3 separate regions of the Homo sapiens genome follow, and all the other regions are linked to region 1. The links are contacts of gene promoters, found by promoter capture Hi-C in blood cells and fetal thymus (Javierre and others, 2016). All regions are on one chromosome and are shown on one strand. The core of a region is centred on a gene start or on the middle of the fragment in contact, and the rest is flanking DNA. Distances in the headings are between cores, read along the strand shown.

The links. The method cuts DNA at HindIII sites, captures the fragments that hold promoters and counts their contacts. A CHiCAGO score of 5 or more calls a contact.
Region 2: a contact is called between a fragment that was not itself captured here and the fragment with the promoter of TMEM70 in region 1, in 1 of 17 cell types (total CD8 T cells). The highest score is 6.5, in total CD8 T cells.
Region 3: the fragment with the promoter of NCOA2 here is called in contact with the fragment with the promoter of TMEM70 in region 1 in 3 of 17 cell types (total CD8 T cells, fetal thymus and non-activated CD4 T cells); the score reaches 11.9 in total CD8 T cells.

What each region holds. Positions count from the first base shown.
Region 1 is chr8:73,973,569-73,977,765 of GRCh38, forward strand. TMEM70 (transmembrane protein 70) reads left to right here and starts at 2,627. Exons shown (of 3, transcript NM_017866.6): 1 at 2,627-2,923. The coding sequence starts at 2,714. RefSeq lists silencers at 2,416-2,495, 2,545-2,760, 2,926-2,975. The HindIII fragment of the contact is 7,182 bases long and covers 1-3,211 here.
Region 2 is chr8:70,604,088-70,608,139 of GRCh38, forward strand. It overlaps TRAM1 (translocation associated membrane protein 1), which reads right to left. Exons shown (of 11, transcript NM_014294.6): 1 at 3,990-4,052. It overlaps LOC124902090 (small nucleolar RNA U13), which reads left to right and starts at 445; the gene lies at 445-550. RefSeq lists silencers at 3,376-3,825, 3,846-4,025. The HindIII fragment of the contact is 1,781 bases long and covers 787-2,567 here.
Region 3 is chr8:70,401,635-70,405,503 of GRCh38, forward strand. It overlaps NCOA2 (nuclear receptor coactivator 2), which reads right to left and starts at 2,174. Exons shown (of 23, transcript NM_006540.4): 1 at 2,066-2,174. RefSeq lists silencers at 771-1,430, 1,461-1,750, 1,791-2,100, 2,791-2,950 and an enhancer at 2,571-2,690. The HindIII fragment of the contact is 4,231 bases long and covers 1-3,466 here.

The DNA of each region.
Region 1 (4,197 bases), core at 1,377-3,876:
GGTGTGCTCCACCACGCCGGGCGACTTTTTTCTGTGTTTTTAGTGAAGACGGGGTTTCACCATGTTGGCCAGGCTGGTCTCAAACTCCTGACCACAAGTGATCCGCCCACCTTGGCCTCCCAAAGTGCTGGGATTACAGCCGTGAGCCACTGCGCGCGGCCTAAAAACATCCTTAAAATCATTCTAAAATCCCATTAGTTTATATTTAACAAATGTCTCTAACTTACTGGAACTGGAAAATCCATCTAACATAAATAACAATTCTATGTAAATCTATGGTACAGAGTTTTCAGACTATAATCTGATTTTATCTATTTAGAAATTTTGAGAAATAGATCAAACAAAAGTTTTTATTTTCATTTACTTACAGTATTTGTAGGGGGAACAGCTTTACAGAAGATAAAAAATTTGAGTTCTCTTAATATAGTTAAGAAAAACATTTTTATGTGAAAATTTTAAATATATCAGCAAAATAATAGAGTGAATATTGATTGTGAGTGAATTACCCTAAACAGAAGAGTTTTTAAAATGTAAATAGGCCAGGTGTGGTAGCTCAGGTTCTGTGACACTTTGGGAGGCCCAGGCGGGAGGATCCCTTGATTCCAGGAGCTCAAGACCAGCCTGGGCAACAAAAGGAAACCCTGTATCCACTAAAAATACAAAAATTAGCTGGGCATGGTGACGTGGCCTGTAGTCCCAGGTACTTGGGAGGCTGAAGTGAGAGGAACACTTGAGCCTGGGAGGTCAAGGCTGCAGTGAGCTATGATGGTGCCACTGCACTCCAGCCTGGGCGACAGAGCAAGACCCTGTCTCAAAAACAAAATAAAAGGTGGGCACAGTGGCTCACCCTTGTAATTCCAGCACTTTGGGAGGCTGAGGTGGGCGGATAGCTTGAGCCTCAGGAGTTTGAGACCAACCTGGGCTATATGGTGAAACTCCATCTCTACTATTAAAACAAATATTAAAATAAAAATAAACAAAATGTAAGTAGAAGCTAACTTTTTATAAAATAAAGTTATCCATATAGAGGTATTATCATTATCTCCTTCTGAATACTCCCCCCAATAGACAGTATTTGGAGTTGCCAACATGATCATATTCTATTGATTTATTTTTATTTTTATTTTTGAGACAGGGTCTAGCTGTGTCACTCAGTGCAGTGGTGCAATCAGGGCTCACTGCAGCCTCAACCTCTTGGGCTCAAGTGATCCTTCCACCTCAGCCTCCCAAGTAGCTGGGACTACAGGCAGGTGCCACCATGCCCAGCTAATTTAAAAATTTTTTGTAGAGACAGGGTCTCACTTTGTTGCCCAGGCTGGTCTCAAACTCCTGGAATCAAGTGATCCTCTCACCTGGGCCTCCACGTAGTATTGGAATTGCAGGCGTGAGCTCCCGCCCCTGGCCACACATTATTTTAGACTATGAATTTGTTCCTCTCCGGTGCAAATAACATGTCAAATCAAAAACATGTATAGTTCTGCAGTGGTAAACAAAAGTGTGTTTCTATTACTAAGATGCTCATCCTTCAAGACTGAGCTAAATGTGAAGCCAGTCTGAAGACATTCTGAGGCAAAATTAATCATGTTCTTCTTTGTACTTCTGTGGCATTTGTTTGTTCTTTTTTTTGAGACACGGTGTCACTTTGTGGTCCAGGCTGGAGTGCAGTAGTGTGGTCTTGGCTCACTGAAGCCTCGACTTTGGGCTCAAGCAATCCTACCATGTCAGCCTCCTGGGTAGCTGGGACCACAGGCACACACTTACCATGTGTGGCTTATTTTTGTTTTAGGTTTTTTTTTTTTTTTTTTTTTTGTAGAGACGGGGTCTCCCTGTATTGCTCAGGCTGGTCTCAAACTCCTGGCCTCAAGAGATCTTCCTGCCTAAACCTCCCAAAGCGCTGGGATTACAGGTGTAAGCCACCACGGCCAGCCACATTTTGTATATTGCGGTGTCTCAATTGTATTACATTATATTCTAGCCAATTTTCAGGTATTTTCCTCCACTGTTTAAGCACTGTGGATTCCCAGTTTAATCTAGTATTTTGTATCCTCTGCTCCTAGCTCAGTCCTGGCAATAGATTCAGTACCTCTTTAACAAGTAATGAATCAATGTGTATATGGATGTGAATGATTTCCGAAGACAAATCTGGTAACACCTATCAATATTACATGAACAATTCCATTTATTTTCCTCCAACCCGATGATTCAATTAAGTTATCACTCATTTTTGTTCAAATCGTATATTCTTTCTTCTGTGCCAACAGGCTAGAATCATTTTCCGCAAAGGAAACAGTTTTTAGTGATGTCGTCCACGAGAAAAAAAAATATTTAACCCTGGCTTCTGGGCATTGTCATTCTCGTACAGCCCTCTGCCCCTCCACACTGTTATAAAGAAGGTAAAATTCTAGGAAGGAGGAGCCGCTGAGCCAAGGACAGAGCGGCGGGCTCCCAGCTCAGCTGGCGGATAACGCGCGCGGCCGGGAAGGCGGCAGGCGGGCGGCAGGCGGGCGGCAGGCGGGCGGCAGGCGGGCGGCAGGCGGGCGGCAGGCGGGCGGCAGGCGGGCGGCAGATTCTGCGCACGCGCAGGCAGCCCAGCTGCCAGTCAGGCGTCCCGGGCTGGGCATGCGCCACTTGTGCGGCAGTCGGGTGGGAAGCCGTGTCTCGCAGTCGTGGACTCGTGCAGCTGGGGCGTCCGCAGCCGCTCGTCACCCGCGTGATGCTGTTTCTGGCGTTGGGCAGCCCGTGGGCGGTCGAACTGCCTCTCTGCGGAAGGAGGACTGCATTGTGTGCGGCCGCCGCGCTCCGAGGTCCCCGGGCCTCTGTCTCCCGGGCGTCCTCCAGCAGCGGGCCTTCGGGGCCGGTAGCCGGCTGGAGTACGGGGCCTTCGGGAGCCGCGCGCCTTCTCCGGCGTCCGGGTCGAGCGCAGGTAGGGCGTCCGAGGTCTGGTGTCCCAAGTGAGGCGGGGAGGGCGGGCGTCGTGTCGGGCCTGGGGAGCCCCAGCGGCTCTTCGCGACCTCTCCCAGGTGTCCGTGGCTGGAGCGCGGGAGGAGCCCCCTCTGCGGGGCTTGCAGAAGTAGCAGGCCGAGGGCCCCGGGGTCCTCAGCCTCCGCGAGTCCAGGAGAACGGCTGGAAAGTGCTTACTTTTATGGTAGTTCCAAATCCAGAGGGTTTGTGGTGACAACTATATGTAGTTCCTTTTCTGCCCTTGAGTAGAAGCTTAGAAGTGTTAATTTGCAAAAAATTGGATGCAGCACCTGGAAATAGAACCGAAAGAGCCAGGTTAACCTGACTTTGAGCTTGTTCTACTTTTATGAGGTGGCTGTACTTTTAAGAATTACTTTGGTCCCTGGGAAAAGGGGGATGCAGATGTTAATTCTTTTATTTTGATCTGAATAAATTGTCTTCTAATTCTACTCTGTAAAATATCAGGATTGGCAAACCTGGTTAAAACTTGGAAGAAATGCTTAAAATGGAAATTGGAATCTAATTACATTTCAGCATTGAGGAATTAGGCATGCCTTTTACATTTTGAAGTGTATACACTGTGAAACTCATTTTCAGATGTATGGGGAACGCTTCTGTTCCCTTGAAATTTGATGTAGGATTTCAAGTAAATTTTATTTCTTTTTTTTTGGAGGTGAAGTCTCGCTCTGTCACCCTGGTTGGAGTGCAGTGACGTGATCTTGGCTCACTGCAACCTCCGCCTTCCGGGTTCAAGCGATTCTCCTGCCTCAGCCTCCCCAGTAGTTGGGATTACAGGCGCGCTCCACCACACCCCGGCTGATTTTTTTTTTGTATTTTTAGTAGAGACGGGGTTTCACCGTGTTGGCCAGGCTCGTCTTAAACTCCTGACCTCAAATCATCCTCCTGCCTCGGCCTGTCAAAGGGTTGGGATTACAGGCGTGAGCCGCTGTGCCCAGCCAAATTTTATTTCTTGTCAAGAAATAAGAGGACCAGGGGATACACGGTATTTACAAGGTCTTTAGAGAAAGATTTGATCTCTTTAATACTATCATATAAATATTTTAGCAGTATTTGTAAAAGGCCTGGACTTTAAATATAATGTGAGTTTGCGGAGTATTTTACTTAAATTATTTTAGTAAAATTAAATTTTATTTCTTAGAGATGGGGTCTTGCCATGTTGCCCAGGCTGGCCTTAAACTCCTGGGCTCAAGTGATCCACCTCAGCCTCCCCAGTAG
Region 2 (4,052 bases), core at 427-2,926, 3.4 Mb before region 1:
GAGTTTATGACAGTTTGAACATTTACAGAGCTGCTCTCCATTTACAAAAATGGAAAAATGAAAAAAGAGACTTATTCAGATGCATCTTAAATAGGTTACCAGAAACTGTAATGAATTACCTAATTCTATGCTGTATGCAATGTCATAAATACAACATTTCTTTAATTAAATGTCACCGGTTGGGGCTTGGTATCTTTCTTGTTATATAGAGATGTTAACTACTTTGCACTTGTTTTAGAGGAAGATGTGACCAGTCACTACATGGACTGGATCCTTGAAAAGTAAAGACAATTCTGAATATCAAATTCCACTTCCAGTGGGGCTCAGTGGCACGTGCCTGTAGTCCCAGCCACTCAGGTGGCGAGAGGGGAGGATCACTTGAGCCCAGGAGGTCAAGTTCCAGCCAAGGCAACATAGCAAGACCCTGTCTCAAAAAAAAGAGAGACCCTTTTGTAGTTCACAAGTGTGATGATTGGGGTTTCACGCTTATATGTGAGATGTGTCTCTCCCTCAAACTTTGTTCTGACCTGAGCACCTTACCTGTCATAAAAAGAAAGAAAAAAAGGAAAGAAAAAAAAAACCCAAACCTTGAAAACTGTTTCAAGATTGTTGAAATTGTAAACGTCCCCAAAATCTGTATGGCATAAAGAACTTGCAGATTTTGAATATCTTTCCTTTTGAATATATTTCCTTTTGAATATCTTTCCTTTATACACTCCTTAAAAGAAATACTTCTCTTGTGAACCCCTAATTCTTCACCCCTCCTCCACATACTCACTTTCAGAAAGCTTCCCAAGCATCCCTAACATTTTTTGACCATTCAATTTTTCCTAACTCAAATATGAAGCCATTCATTGTATACTATGATTTGAATTATGTGGACAGATATTTACTGTAATAAAACTATGATTCCAAAATTTACAAGCAATTTTTGATTAATGTGAAGTTCCCTGGAAATTAAACTCTTACATTACTGCCAAACAGACTACTTTGTTAGCCTTTTCAGTATGTATAATCTCTTTAGATGCTAACTAAAGAGATTCCAGGCCCTTCTCTCACATAAAAATGCTTTCTATTTCCCAATTTTGGTGAGTTTTTAAAGAATAATAATAGCTACCACTTATTGCACACCTTTTGGAAGTCAAGTATTGAACTAGGCATAATACAAATTGGTTAATTTGTCAGAGTAACCCAATAAGCCCCATTTTACAGATGAGGAAACTTCAGTTCTGAGCTGCCCTAGGTCACCCAGTTAGCAAGCTGCAGAGCCCTAACTTGAACATGAATCCCTTCAGCTCCAGAATCCATGCTTTTACAGTGTATCTCCATTGCTTCTTCATTTTGGCTAGTAATACAGTATTTCTTTCTTTCTGAATTTCTTTGTCAATGTCACCATAAATCCTCTGACATTTCCTCAATGTATCTGCACAACAGGCTTAACAGTTCTGCAAAAAAAAATCAATTTCTCTATTATTCTAGCACAAGTACTGTAATTCTATAATTATGTTAACTTTGAGATTCAGCAGCAATTGTTTTAAAAGTCGAATAGCAAAACTAACCTAGTCTACAAAGTCCTATATATAGATAACATGCTTTGAAATCCTAACACCTTAATATATGGTAAGAAAAAGGAAGAACTCGCACAAACTTCACTTTTGTGTATCACTTTAACACTCACTTTTGAATTGACTTAAAAACCTCTATTTAGTATTTTTGTCTATTTAGATTTTCAAATTTTATAAATTTATATAAAGGTGAAAATCCACTGTTTAAAAAAATCACTAACATGTGAGGCAAGGTATAGGTGGTGGACTTCCCTAGAAATATAGTAAGAGAATGTAAAATAGTTTATATAAAATCAAAGTTATACTATGTGTCAGAATTTCTGATTTATATTTCATTTCATTCAAAGCACTGCAAATATACCTTGCAGGTCACAGTACCCCTAAAATATGTTTTTAAAGTCAGGAATTCTTACCATGTGGAGATGGTTTATGACAAGTTACAGAAAATTGAATATACTACATATATTAAAGTACTACTTTAAGGTCAAAGCAGAAAGTACATGCAAGTATCAAATTCAGAAAGTGAATACAAATGTTTAACATTGGGTTTTTTTTGAGACAGGGTCTTCTTGCTCTGTCCTTCAGGCTGGAGTGCAGTGGTGAAACCTTGGCTCACCGCAGCCTCCACCTCCTGGGCTCAAGTAATTATCCCACCTCAGCCGCCCAGCTGAGACCACAGGTGCGTGCTATCTATCACTCCTGGCTAATTTTTAAAAAATCATTTGTAGAGACAGGGTCTCCCTATGTTGCCTAGGCTGGTCTCGAACTCCTGGGCTCCAGTGATTCTCCTGCCTTGGCCTCCCAAAGTGTTGGGATGTTTACAGGCATAAGCCAGAGCACCAGGCCTAGCACTGTATTTACCTTCACACCATATCATCTGATACTTGCAAAAAATGGCTGTGAGGAGAACAGTACAGGTGATATTATTTCCTGATAAAGAGCAGAAAAATTGAGGCTCAGACTTGGGTCACCCAGTAGGTAGGTGGCACAGCCCAGACTTAAAGCTTGAGAATGTTAGTTTCCTTCTACCTACCCTTTAACTATACCTGCTACCTCCTTAGCAGTGGTTTCAAACATGCATGACACAATCAGGAGTAAATAATATCTGTATCTAGATCCAGAAAAGCCCATTTGATGAGAGGCGAAAATAAGGTTAAAATATTATTTAATTTTAAAATTAAAAAAAAAAACAAATATGCTCCATTAAAAAGAAAATGTATTCACCTTTTGGTCACTGGTAATATCATTCCATTAGGTTTTCTCAAGGATTCTTAACGTCGCTCATCTTTTTTTAAGCACTCCTATGTCCCAGGCACTATCCTAGACTCTGGAAATACAGACTCGTAAAAATACTCCAAAATCTCTACTCTCACTTGTTACATGCAGGAGAGAGGAGACAAAACAAGGCAGGAGCAAAATAATTTGTATATTTACTGAGACATAAAGGCTCCAGAGAAAAATTAAAAAGGGAAAAAAGCAAAGGAATGAGCGTGTGTATTGGGGAGCGAGGGGAAAAACGTAGGATGTTACTCGTTCACCTTGCAAAGTTTATCATCCACATTCAACAGCTGTTAAATAAGTCATCAAAATACTAGATACGTGGGAAGAGAATTTACACACTCCTGACATTCCCATCCTCTCCTACTTCAAGAAACAAAATTACTCGATTCCTTGGCACCGCTGTTCAGAACCTCGATTTATCCATCAGACCTTGTTTCTTTAAAGCGTCAGGGCAAAAAGTTCGTTAACTGGTAATAATATCAGTTTAAAAGACAAAAATGAAAACAATCTGGCGCGCCTCCACTGCGCCGGTGCCCGGCGGCCACCGCCCTTCAAGTCGAAAGCAGATGCCTGACTCCGGTTTCTCGCTCACCCCAATCTCGGAGCTACCGGGGGCTCCCCTGTCACTCGGGGCCTGTGGTCTCCAGGCCGGCACTCCTCAGACCCGGGGGCCGGGCCTCGGCCTTCCCCGGCCCTCGCGGGGCTGACGCTCACCGCGGCCGAGGCTGGCAGTCCCCCCAAGTCCGCCCACCCGCCCCGAGCCAGCTCGGCAGCGCAGGGGCCGCCCCCGCCCGCAGGCCCCTCGCCGGCTGCCACGTAACCCTTCGCGGGAACCAGGAACTGCGCCGCGCAGCCTGCGGGAGGGGGCGGCGGCGGGTCAGGAAGGGGGCGACGCGGCGGTCCCCACCCCCTGCGGGCCGCGATGAGGCCCACCGGGACTTTGCATCTCCGGGCCGGCCGCCGGGGAGCTGCCGCCGACGTGGGGCAGGGCAGGGAAGGCCTGCACCTCAGGGACTGGGGGTCTGCACCCACCCCGGGCCCGAGCCCCCCGCGTCCTGGGCGGAGAAGCCGGGGCTGGCATCTGGAGCCCGGGCCCGGGCTGGAGGTGGCGGGGCAGGCGGTTGGGACTCGGGGCGGGCTCACCTCAAACATGAGCCCCAGCAGGAAGACCATCGCCACACAGGAGACGATGTCCGCGTGATTCTG
Region 3 (3,869 bases), core at 924-3,423, 3.6 Mb before region 1:
CCATTATGAACAATGATGCTTTCTACTACCAATAATCAGTTGACGTGATACTGCTCCCATGCCTTCATTCTCAGGGTTCCCTTTCAAATTTCATTGTCCCCATTCTGGCATAGCTGAGTGAAACCGAGATAAGAGGTAAACGGGTAACTTCTGTCTTCTGTGACCCTTAGCATGTAAACCGGACGCTGAGGTCCAGGACATGATCACTACAGCATATGCCATTTTAGAAACCGGCCTCGGTGAGTTACTGCCACATCCTAAAGTGGCTTTAGACTTCGTCGTGTCTAAGACAACGTCTATTTCGGTACGAAAGACATACAGGACCTCGAGTGCCTCGGCAGCCTCTGCGGGTCGGAGCCCCTATAAGTGACACAACCCCAGAAATCAAGGAGCGGGTGACTCGGGGATGGACAAGAGTAGCTGGCTCTCAGCGTCTCCATGACTCCCCCGCCCCGCATGCAACTCTGCTCTAACTGGTCAGGAGAAACCCCGCCCCCTTCCTTCCTCCGGTCCGCACGATTGGCTCACCGACACCCGGCAGGTCAGCTCCCTGCCTTCGATTGGCTCACTGCCCCATCAGTCAGACGCACCGAGATTCGGGTCGGTGGGAGGGGAAGGCGTCGGAGGAGGTGGAGAGGGAGTGGGATTAGAGGACGAGGTGGCGGAGGAAGGTGTTCAGGCTCGGTCTCTGGTTTGGGAAAGTTTCCCCTACCAGTGACGGACCCAGAACGCGGGAGGCCCAGTCCAGCTCCGGGCCAGCGGAAGGGGGCTCCAGTCCCCGATTCCCGCCCCTCGGTCCCGCAGGCCCCGGAAACCACTAGAGGGAGGGGAAGAGGGAGGGGCCATCTAACCAGGGACCGACCCACCCCCGGTCTCGGAAGAGGCGCCTCTGGGACTCCCCCGAGGGGAGGAGGCGGGGAGCGCAGCCGGCAGCGACGACCCCGGCCCCCTCCCCCAGCACCCCCCAGGGGCCCGAGAGGGCCGGGTCCCCGTGCCCGGGGCGTGACCGTCGCGAGGCGGCCACAGGGCCCCTCCCGCTTCCCGCCTGGGGCCCCGAGGGCCTGTCCCTTCAGGGGCGGAGAGAAGGGGGCGAGAAAAGGGGGCGCTGGCGAGCCAACCCGGAACCTCCCGGTCCGCCTCCCGCCCCCGGCCCCGGCCCCAGCGCGCCTCCTGCATACACGCCCGCACCCAGAAAGTTCAGTCAGGGGCGAGCCCGGCTCGGCGCCGCCGGGGCCCGGCCCCCGGCTCCCCGCCCCCACCACGGCCCGGCCTGCTCGGCCCCAGCGCGCCGCCCGCCCCGCCCGCCGCAGCTCCTTCCCGTCCGCCCGCGGTGCTCGGCGCCCCTCGCCCCCCACCCCCGGGGCTGACACGGGCCCGGGCCACCCGCCGGGCCGCGGCTCCCCTTCCCCGCCCCGCGCTGCAGCTCGCCGGCCGCCCCGACACCCCGCTTCACCTTCACACACCCCCAGCACTTCCCGAGTCCTGCCTCCCCTCGCCCGGCTCCCACTCTCCGCTGCAGCCGCTCCGCGCTTCCATTAAAGAATGCACCTTCCCAGGATTCACCTTCTCGGCTCTGCCGCGCTGCCCCCGAGGGGTTAGAGCCTCGGTCTCCGCCGACCCCGCACCGGGCTGGGCAATGGGCACTCGCTCCTCGGGGCGGGGGCCGCGCCCGCACCCCCGGCCGCGCCTCGGCGCTCACCTCTCGCCCGCGCCGCGGGCTGCAGCCTCCGCCCGCCTCGCGCTCCGGGACTCGTCTCCTGAGCTCTCGCAAGGCGCTGGAGCGCCTCCTTTCTCTCCCGGGGACTCCGCGTCTCCCCGTCGCTTCCCGCCCTCCCCACCCCCAAGCCCCAACTCCCCAGCGTCGCTGCGCCTCCGGGATGCAACTCCCGTTTTCCGCGCACTCCGGCGGCGGTCCCCGCACACAAAAACAGCCTCTCGGAGGCGCACGGCTCTGTCGGAGCTCGGCGCAGGAAGGGCAGTCGCGGCCGGGGGTGGGGACGCGGCGCCCCCCGCCTGCCGCCCGCCCCCCGCCCGCCCTCGCGGCCCCGGGGGAAGGCGCGGTTACCGGCTCGGGTCGGTCACGCCGTCAGGTGCCGGCTGCCGTCGGCGCTGACCTTCGCCGCCGAAGCTGTAGCCGAGGCTGCGGCCGCCATGTTCCCGTGTTAATAACTGCTGCCTGGTTGTTTATTTCAATGGAGATCCTCCCCCAACTCCCTCCTCCTCCTCCTCCTCCTCCTCCTCCTCCGCGTCTCCGCACTTGCGGAGAGACAGACAGCGCGAGCTCGCGAGCAGGGGAGGGGGCTCGGGAGCCAGGCCGTCCCTCCCTCTGCCTCCCCGGCAGTGGCCGCCGCCAAGTCCTGTCACCGGGAAAAGGACGGGGCGGAAACTTGCCTCTCGCGCCCCCGAGGAAGGGGCAAAGGTGGACGCAGGGTTGTCCGGGGAGCAGCCCCTGGCCGCGGGGTCCGCAGCATCTCCGTCGGCAGAGTCCTCTGAGAAGGCGGCCCGGGGAGAGGTGAAGAAGAGTAAGGGGACAGGGGACAAAATGGGTGACTGTGGTAGAGGGAGGGTGACCTAGAGGTGACTGGAACTGAAGAGAGAGTCAACAGAGGACTGCATGGGAGGGCAAAGGGCAATGCCAAAAAGAAAACTAGCGACTGGGACGGGCCTGGGCCGCTGAGTTAGAGGCAGTGGGGCCTGGGGGCTGCAGACGGCAGGGACGGTGCCCCAGGACGAAGATCGGGGAGAGCCGAGTTCCAGGGTCGCCAGCAGAGGACCCTCGCGCCCGTCCGGCCGGACCCTTCGGCCAGCACCCTGCACCCCCTCGGGCGCACCTCACCCTACCCAACTCCCGGTCCTGCCGCTGCTCCCCGGAGGCGCCCCGCATCCGTCAAGTCCCCTACGGCTCCAACAGGGAGAGGCTTCTCCCATTGCAGTCCTAGCTCCAGAGGGGATGGAGAGGCGCGACTGTGGGAGCTGGAAGGGGCACCACCCGGCAATTGCGGGATAAAGCAAATGCTGCACACAGAGTGTGAAACTTAACCTGGTTGAGAATTTTCGGCACATCATGAAATCATAAGTTTGTATTGGAAAGTCCATTCTCTAGACATCCGTGAACAAAGTACTGAGGGGACGTAGGAGATTGGCACTGAAAATGCGAGAACCCCCATTTAAGTGTTACTTAGACCAATCTGTTTTACGCTTTGGAAAAGCAAGTTTTTTTTCCAACTTATACGGTAATTAGTTGAAAAAAAAAACTTTTGTTTAATGGCAGTTATCAAACTATGAGAGGAACATATTCCCTGATTTTAATCTTATAATGAGAAAGGTCACTTGCGGTAGACAATAAGAGTGTTTATTGAACACTTACTGTGAATCTGACTGTGCTAGGTGATGTATATATGCTATAGGCCTTAATCCTCAAACCTTCCGAAGTCATTGCCGCTTTTCACTTCACACAAAAAATTGAAGCTTAAAGTAATTTGCCCAGGGTCACAGCCAGTAGTTGGAGAGGATGTGAGCCCAGTTCTGGTGAGCTCCAAAGCCCATGCTTTTAAACATGTCTTCATCCTAAAATTTGTGGGTGTACCGCCAATTTTATTTGGGAAAAGAATAAAAAAAATGTGTGGGGTGTGTGTGTCTGTGTTTGTTTGTGGATAGAAAATGCTTGGAAGCCTATAACAACAAATGTTAGCGCTGGGGAGTGTAAGAAGTGGGTGATGAGGCACTTCCACTTTTTATTTTGCACACCTATCTAATGTTTGAAATGTTTGCATTGACTATGTATTAATGTATATTTTTAAAGGTTTTTTTTTTTTTTTTTTTTTTTTTTTTTTAGCTAGCTGGAATAATAGAATTATGTTCCCAAAGCG